Linked DNA regions of Homo sapiens: region 1 is linked to region 2. Evidence: promoter capture Hi-C in 16 types of primary human blood cells and fetal thymus (Javierre and others, 2016). All regions are on one chromosome and are shown on one strand. The core of a region is centred on a gene start or on the middle of the fragment in contact, and the rest is flanking DNA. Distances in the headings are between cores, read along the strand shown.

Region 1 (4,534 bases), core at 2,035-4,534, 3.2 Mb before region 2:
ACAATATTTTTCAAATTATAGACAACATTTGTGAGTATGCAGTAAAAACACTAAAAAAAAAAAAAAAAAAACTTATTAAATCTCAAATTCCCAAGATGTTCCCCCATATAAGGTGGGAGCTCATATCATCACATGTAACATTACAAAACCTGTACTATAAAATTAGATGAATAAATAATAAACCTATACTATTACCAAATTCATAATAAAAAGATCAACTTACCAAATTAAAATCAGCCTATTTATTCCCTTTGTATAAATAACCTAAAGTTCCCCAGGTTTTTATTTCCCAGTTTCCTACAAATGAATTGATCAGAATGCCTCTTTATAGATCAGCTTTCCCATAGTTTCTCTCTCATTTGGCAATAACTTCCCATATTTACTTCATTTCCAGAATAATCTCCCCCTCTTGCAACCCACACAAATGTAAGAGAATGAAGGCATAATTTCTATAATTCATAATTATTTCCCCATTATTGAATTTCATTTTTGAATTATTATAAATCATCCTGAAATCTAATAATATAAATCTTTCTCATCCTATCAGTCTATTAAAATATACAAAACATCATTTAAGATGGTTAACACAAGAAAAGATAACTATGGCAGCCTTCATAAATCAAGCAAAAGATTTCAGAAAAGTGCTTCAGTCTGTTCAGTTATCTCTAACTTTCACTAGAAAATTAAGGGAATGCCACTGTTACAGAAGGTATAATTGCAGATTCTAAAAAGTGAATACATGTGTACATGTAATTTATATCTATTCAGTATCATCTTCTGATTATCTGTACAAATAAAAGGACAAAAGACACAGATGATGAAAACACATAATCCTCAAACCACTTCAGATACATTTTGTGCCTGTATTTCACAGGACCAAGTCTGAGAATTCAGAACACAAAGAAAATTAAGCCATATTGCAAAGAGTTTGTCACAAACACAATGAGCAGAACAATAAAATTGAAATGACATTATTGACTTGACTTTGTCATCTTCTGTTTATTTCTGATGGTGGCTCGAAGTTTACGTATTACCAGTCTATCAGGTAGAATCATATCACCTTGTTGTTCTAGATAATCCAATAAATTTTCAGTCCACTGGAGGGCAGCTGCATGATTAATATGTTTCTCTGGAATTAGTTCTATTTCCTCCTCCTCATTTTCACTGGATTCATCTGCCTGGCCTTGTGCTCTTCTGATGATTTCGCTATCAGTTAACACTTCATAGCCTGGTTCAGTACTGTCTACTTCAAGCCATTTTTCAAGGTTCTCAGTAGTCACATTTTCCAATCCTTTGGTGTGTTGTAAAATGGCAGCCACAGTAGCCACAGAAATATCTTCAACATCAAAGTCCAGGCTCTCTTTCTCCTCTACCATAGGGAGAATCTTCTTCCATGCTCTGCTAATGGTAACTGGTTTTACTAAGTTCCATGCCATTGCTATTTCATAAAGTGCATCCAACAGAGTTAGCTTCTTCCAGAATGATTTCAGGTCATTACCTTCTTCCAAGTTGTTCTGGAGAAGACCTGCACGATAATTTCTCTTCATCGTTGCTATGACTCCCTGATCTGAAGGCTGAATCAATGAGGCCACATTAGGTGGTAAATATTTAGCAAATATTTGGCCATCATCTGACCTTAGGACATTTTCATTTGGATGTGTTGGTGAATTATCCAACAAGAGCACAGCCTTTTCCTGCAAGCCTTTAGATCTTAAATACTCTCGAACTTGCGGCACAAAAATTTTATCAAACCATTGTCGGAAAATGGAAAGATCCATCCATGCACCTTTTTGGCTGAAATAAGAGACTGGCAGGTTTAAGGTGTCAGTTGATTTAAAGGAGCGAGGTTTCTTTGCTTTCCCCACAACACAAAGTTTAAGTTTGTGTAAACCTGTTGCATTGGCACAACACATGATTGTGACTCTTTCTTCAATTGATTTGTGCCCAGGGACAGTGCATTTACCTTTGATTACTGAAATCCTAGAAGGCAAGCACTTCCAAAAGAGTCCAGTTTCATCTGCATTGTAGATTTGTTCAGGCTGTAAATTCTCTCGTTCAATAAAATCTCGAAAGTTATTACAAAAATCTTCCACCGCAGTCTCATCTCCATTTAATCTTTCATTTCTAATGTTAATCTCTCTAATGCTGTGCCGCTGCTTAAAACGAGTTAGCCAACCGGCAGAGGGGTTAAAATCACCATCCATTCCCAAAGCATAAAAGAAGAACTCTGCCCTTTTTGCACAAATTGGTCCAGATATGGGATTCCCTTTTGCTCTTTGCTGGTTGAACCATTCCAGCATTGCCCTGTCCAATTCCTCATACATGGATGGCTTCATAGATTTCCTCTTGGCCAAAAGACTTGTGGAATCAGAACTGCTTGCATAAGTTATAATCTTTTCCTTATTTTTTCTTATATCCCGAACTGTTGTTTCACCAATTCCATAAATCACTGCCAGTTGTTTGGAAGAACCTCCGTCTTCAAGTTTCTTTATTATATCAAGCTTATCTTTAATAGTCAACACCACACGCTTCCGTTTCCCTGACATAGCGAGGTTCTGGGACTCACCCCACACTCACAATGTAGCAATCCACAAAATCCTTCCTTCTCTTACACAGGCTCACTTCAACAGTCTTAACACACTCAGTCTTTCATCCTTACCAGCAACCTGGTGGCCCTGATCCCCTCCCGGGCTGGGGTTGGCTGGCAAATAGACTGCAGAAGAAGGTGAAAGAGGAGGAAGTTTGAGAGAACAGGCCTTTCTTTAACTTATACGGGCAGTAGCGGAGGCCCCATGTCACCGCGGATAATCCGGATTAAAAGCATGTGTTTTATTACCCCAGCAGCCGTGAGAAAGACTATACCCCCATTGTGGCCACGAACCTCCTGCACGTCCAGATCCCGGGTAACCGCGCGTCACTAACCCCTGCCACACCCCAAAGTTACGACAGAGAGCCGAAGAGCCTAGGAGTCAAGGACTGGCACCCTTCCTCAGGGGAACGGATATATTAGATTCCTTCCCCAGCAGCAGGGCCCTCCCGCCGCGCAGCCCCAGTTTCCCGCGCCAGCTTTAGCCGGGACAGTCCTCCCAGTCCCTCAAAACCCGCCAGGCCCCTCTCCCCACCTCTCTTGCAACCAGGACCCGCACAGCTCCCTGACTATCGCGCGGCAGTCGCTCCGCCCCTAGCCACGCTCCCGGAAGATGATCCCTCCCGCCGCCTGGCCCCACCCCTCGCCCCACCCAGAGGCGGGACTTCCCTTGGTCCCCGGAAGGGGGGGAGGAGCATCGCTTGTCCTGAGCTGGTTGCCGGGGCAGGGGCGGAGGCGGAGGCAGAGGTGGAGGCGCTTTGAAAGGTGAGAGCGCGAGGGCGGTGCGGGGCTGTCTCCCGGCTGGGACTCGCTCGCGCTCCCGGTGCTAATGGTTTATGAGAGGGGCGGGGGAAGCCGTGCCTCCTCGCGGACTAAGAGAAAAATTCCCGCGGGCGCTCTTTGGGTGGGCCGGAGAACGCCCCTCAGCCCTTTGCGCCTCTAACCCTCCTCAGCTGAGCTGCAGTGGGCGCGGTGCCCGTTATTTCCGCCTTGGGGAGGTGCTTGGAACTGATGTAGGGAGCTCGGTTGGTGATTTCTCGGGTTTCTGGCCTTTCCAGACCCTTGTAATTGTTTTCTCGGTGCAGAGCTCTTTTGGGGTCTGGGGGTTTCCGTCGTCCTGCGCGCGTCATCGCGAAGCTTGGCCTGAGGGTCCGGTTTCCTAGCTACTGTGCCCCTCCCTCCTGGAGGCAGAGTGACGGACTAGTGGGCTAGCGGGCGCTGGGTTCCTGCGTCCCGCCAAAGAGGTTTGTAATCATGAAAGTCACCCTTCCGGGTGTTAATTCCTGAGAGGATCTATTCCACTGTCTACCACTCATTCCTGCTGCATTAACCTTCATTGTTAACGGATTTTAATGAATAATATAGTTATCCCGGATACCATGCTGGCAGGATCCACTTTGCGAAATTGTGGACTGTTGGACTGTGATTCTAAGTGGGGGAAATAGGCTTTCCTCTCTTTATGTTTATTTTCTTATATCCTATTTCTGTCATGTTCTGTCTTGTTTTCCTGCCAATAGAAGAACTATGATAAATTTATTCATAGCAGTGTGATAAGAACTTGATCTTAATCATACACTGTAGCCCTCAAATCGTGTATTATGCTGGCTTGTTTTTGGTGTCCCTAGTAATTTCATCAGATTGTGAGCTCCTTGGGAGCAGAGACCATGTTTATTTGAAATGGTGGCAGCACAGTTCCTAGCAGGTGCTTGCATTTTGGTAGATATTCAATAATTATTTTTCGGCTTATTAATCTTTGCTCTCCAAACTGCCATATAAAAGAAAACATCGAAGAGGAGTGATGTTTTACACCCAAGAATGGATCCCTCCTGGTAGAATTTCAAATAATGACCTGGGGTTCCACTGCCTTTCAAATCTGTAAAGTGTTAACTACCACCTGCATTGTTTATACAGCAAGTAGGTGATTTCTAGAATGAATCTTTTCTTGAG
Region 2 (4,594 bases), core at 656-3,155:
TAGCACAGTGCCTTGCACATAATAGTATACAGCATAGTATAAAGCCCAGAAAGAGGAATAATTATAAGTGGAGAAGTGTTGTAACAGAGATACGAACAAAGTGCTGCAGTTGCAAAGAAGGAAGTAGTTAAGATGTGATGCAAGAAGTTAAAGTCAGGAAAAGAAATGAATTTCCAGGGTTCAAATTGTCACATTCTGTATAATGTCTCTATTTTGATACAGCTGTACTTTATATCTGCTTCTAATTTATAAGACCTGGAGTAGAAGTCCTAGTAAATATGTTCTCAAGTAGAGATGCATGAAAAACATATTTCTCTTGAATCTTATGATCATTGTTATCACTTGCTTTATCTCCACATCACTGTAAAGACATTGGGCCTCCTACCTCAGCCCAACCCTCTTCAAAAGATTTCAGGCCTATACTACAAGTCAAACTTTTCTTCCTTCCATATTGCCAGATCTGCTTTCCCTGAAGCTGAGATTAGGGGACAATGACTTTTGATCCCTTTTAACTCTCAAAGGATAATGTTCTTTTAAGATGCTGTCCCACATGTTCTCATTATAATGAGTGGTTTATGGAAAATTACCTTGGTCCTATAATTTCTGTCTGATGCCTATCTTCTCTCCTGCTGATCTTTAACCAGGTGATCCACCCCAACACAGGTTAGGGAACATTGCTCTAGCTATGTTCCAGAATAGATTTCTTCTTCTTCTTCTTTTTTAAAAAAAATCTCCTTTACCCCTTTATTTGTCAGGAACACTTCAAATAAAACCTTCTTTTGGGATTTGCATGTGTATGTATGTGAACAAATTGGGTTCACTTAAAGGAAAAGAAAGGGGGTTGGCAAACTGTCATTATCACTAGTTATCTAGTGAAAGCCTACAGAGGATGCAACAGGAGGAAAGATGTAGATAGTATGTAACTGCGTACCTTTTTAATCTCAGAATTTTAAATATTTAACACCATTGCCATATAGTTACATCAGTGACTGTTAATCAGACCCACTCCCCCCCAAAAAAACCCTTTCCTAAAGCAACCCCACTGAATGAAACGGACACAAATAAAAAGGATTGTCTGGTGTACTGACTTCCAAGAACTATGAAGTGAAAAAAAAAAGAAAGCGATTTTAAAATTAAAATAAATATTTTCCTTTTAAACCAAAAGCTTGCTTCATCCATTGATTCATCGAATATTCATTGGTACCCATCTGGGAGGCCAGCTTTGCATATTTTTCGAGAGCTCCAGCTCTGAAGGCAGAAGGATTCTACTTCTGCCATGTACAAGCTTCCTGTCCCCAGACACGTTACTTACCTCCGTGCCTTAATCCCTTCATCTTTAGCGTTAATGTAAATATTAGAATTATCTCACAAATTGTAGTCAGAATTAAAGATAATGTATGTATGGTGCTTAGGAGTACTTGAAACTACATCAGTACACTTAGTCTTTACCTTAATTTTCTTTCAGCACCACGGTCAACGTCAAATATCTGGAAGGACATTGAAATATCCTGAAAGTGAAATTGTATATGACTTAATTAAATTCTATTTAAGTGTCTCCTGTAACTCTAACTATAGAAACAGGGAGACGAATAACCAGAGTAGTCAGAACCTCAGCATGGGTAGGGGACAAATCCCGTCCTTCTTCGCATTCTCCAAGGTGACTTACAGAACGCTAACGCCTTGCATACGGACAGGCGCCCCAAATTTAAGTTCGCCGTCATCTTTAAAACCCCCAGGGAGCTATGGGCCCGGGTCTCGGCTAGCTCTAAGGTCCCACCCTCGCTGATCTCAGGTTACCCAACCCTCCTCTCGGGTTACCCAACCCGGCCTCGCAGCAGTCCTCGGGTCTTCGGCCCCTCCCGCCCCTCGCCGGCGGTGCCCGCCGAGCCGGGCTGTCCCACTGCGCATGCTCCTCGCCGCGCGGTTGGGGAGCGCCGGGGCAGGGAGGCGGGCACCAGGCGCGGGTCCCTCCGGGCAGGGGAGGTAGGCCTGGGCCTGACGCCGGCCACGCAGCGGCGGGAGAGTGAGCACTCGGGCGGCGGCGTCCTGGAGACCCGCGAGAGATGGAAGCGGCGGCGACGCCGGCGGCTGCCGGGGCGGCGAGGCGCGAGGAGCTAGGTCGGTGTTGTGCGTGGGCAGGGAGCCGGGGCTGACGTGGGCGGGGGTCTGTGCGGGAGTCGGGTGCGCCCACACCTCCAGGGGCCCCGCGCTTGGCCTGAGTTGAGGCCCGATTGCTAACTGACCCCGTGGTCAGCATCCGCAAAGGAACCGGTTATCTGACCCCGAGAACTTGGTCAGACGAAGCCCAGGCCTGAATAGGGCGTTAAAATATGTGTGTGTGTGTTTGCGCGCGCGCGTGTGGGTGAGTGTGTGTGTTGAGTGGGGCGGGGCCCTGTGGGTACACGTCAAAGACGCAAGAGCCTGCGCCGTGACTCACGGTTTTTTTCCCAATGATGCTTTAAGGAAGTTATCATTGTTCTGCTTTTCAAATGCTGCAGCCCCATTCGGAATCTCCAGATGAATCCTCATTTTACTCCTTGTTATCCCAGAGTTTCGAACAGGTCGTGCTGACCAGAATGAACAGGAGATACCTGTAGCTTGCTCACTTGGCAAAGTTTGTTTGTTTTTTGCTGCTTTCCTCCCATCTTGTTTCTTGGCGACAGGGCGTGTTTGTTTACGGTTTCCCGCTGTCCAAAATAAAAAAGTAAGGATCAGGGTGGTAAAATGATCGCTCTCCCAGTTATACGTACTGTACTTGGGAGTATTTTTCATTCGATGCTGATTAAATGTAATTAAAAAATTAAATCTAAATGGAATCTTCAAGAAAACCGTTGAACTTTAAAAAATACCGTATTATAAGTAACTGATAGGTTGTTGTTATTCCTCTAATAGCCTGCAGGGCACTTTGCAATGGAATTGTTTTCAGGCCGTAATAATGGTAGAAACAATAAACTTAACATTTTATTGCGTGCTTACTGTGTGCAAACACTGTGCTAAGTGCTTTACCTATGCATTGTCTTTAATCCTCACAGCAACTGAGATAGGTGCTATCATGATTTCCATTTTATAGATACAGTAATTTTAAGCTTATTAATGGCAGAACCCAAATGTGAACTCAGGTTTCATTCATTAATAACCTGTCTTAGTGAGGATATGGAGAAATGGGTATTCTCATGCATTGCTGGCAGGAAAGGGATAATATATTTAGCCTTAAAAATGTACATATCGGCCTGGCGCGGTGGCTCACGCCTGTAATCCCAGCACTTTGGGAGGCTGAGGCGGCCGGATCATCACAAGGTCAGGAGATGGAGACCATCCTGGCTAACACGGTGAAACCCCGTCTCTACTAAAAACACAAAAAATTAGCCGGGCGTGGTGGCGGGCGCCTGTAGTCCCAGCTACTCGGGTGGCTGAGGCAGGAGAATGGCGTGAACCCGGGAGGCGGAGCTTGCCGTGAGCCGAGATCGTGCCACTGCACTCCAGCCTGGGCAACAGAGCGAGACTCTGTCTCAAAAAAAAAAAGTGCTTATCGTTTGACCCAGCAATTCTCCTTCAGAATATTTCCCGAGGAAATAAGTAATGTAACCCATACTTATATCAAGAGGTTTTCATTATAGTATATAGAGAAAAGCTGTTAACTAAAGTACAATGAAAGGAAATTGGTTAAATTGTGGTATAGTTTTACATTGCCTACCATTAAAAGTGATGTGGAAAGATGTTCAGCATGTACATTTTCTTTAACTGAAAAAAAGTTTCAAATTATTTCAGTTTTTTTAAGTTTTATATTTTCATTAATTCAACACATATTCATTGAGCTTCCCCTAGGCACTTGAGATACATCGTGAGCAAAACAGATAAAAATTCCTGTTCTTAATGGAGCTTGTATTTAGTAATGGGAAGCAGAGAGTAAGCAGTAAAGACAATAACCAGTTAATTATATAGTATGTTAGGTGAAAAGTGCTATGGAAAACAAGAGCAGGGTAAGGGAAATCAGGAATGAGGGTGGGGGCTAGGCAGTTTACAGTATTTTATAAAATGGTTGGGATGGGCCTTATTGAAAAGGTACAATTTGAGTAAAGACCTGGAAGAGGTAAGGAAATTAGCCAAATGGATATCTGGGGAACGACTACTCCAGGCAGAAAGAATAACTAAAGGAATAGCAAGGAGGACAAAGTGGCTGAAGCAGAGTGATGGAGGTGGCGATGGGGCCAAATTATGTAGGGTCTTGTAGGTAATGTAAACTGTGACTTTTACCCTGAGGGAAGGGGAGAACAATGCAGGGTTTGAACAGAGGAGTGTCATGATCTGCCTTGTTTTAAAAGGATTGCATTGACTGCCATGTGACGAATAAACTGTAAGGGGGCAAAAGTAAAAGCAGAAGAATATTTCAGTAATTCAGGAAAGATATGGGTGTCCTTCAGAGCAGTATGGTAGTGGCAGTGGAGGTGAATAGACATAGTTAGTCTCTAGGTATATTTTGAAAGAACCAGTGTGATTTCCTGACAGAATGGGTGAGGGTTAGAGAGTAAAACGGAGGAGACATGGAAGACTCCAGGGACCTGAGTATCTAGAAGAATGAAATTGTTATTAACTG

What was found. Contacts are between HindIII fragments. The CHiCAGO score rates a contact against its expected background, and 5 or more counts as called.
Region 1: the fragment with the promoter of CCDC82 here is called in contact with the fragment with the promoter of SLC36A4 in region 2 in 7 of 17 cell types (total B cells, fetal thymus, naive CD4 T cells and 4 more); the score reaches 9.9 in total B cells.

The regions. Positions count from the first base shown.
Region 1 is chr11:96,388,662-96,393,195 of GRCh38, reverse strand. CCDC82 (coiled-coil domain containing 82) reads left to right here and starts at 3,284. Exons shown (of 10, transcript NM_024725.4): 1 at 3,284-3,352. JRKL (JRK like) reads right to left here and starts at 3,183. Exons shown (of 2, transcript NM_001261833.2): 1 at 3,123-3,183; 2 at 1-2,713. The coding sequence starts at 2,546. The coding sequence ends at 972. RefSeq lists a silencer at 3,111-3,370. The HindIII fragment of the contact is 1,223 bases long and covers 2,504-3,726 here.
Region 2 is chr11:93,195,302-93,199,895 of GRCh38, reverse strand. It overlaps SLC36A4 (solute carrier family 36 member 4), which reads left to right and starts at 1,905. Exons shown (of 11, transcript NM_152313.4): 1 at 1,905-2,118. The coding sequence starts at 2,064. RefSeq lists a silencer at 1,764-2,143. The HindIII fragment of the contact is 1,801 bases long and covers 1,288-3,088 here.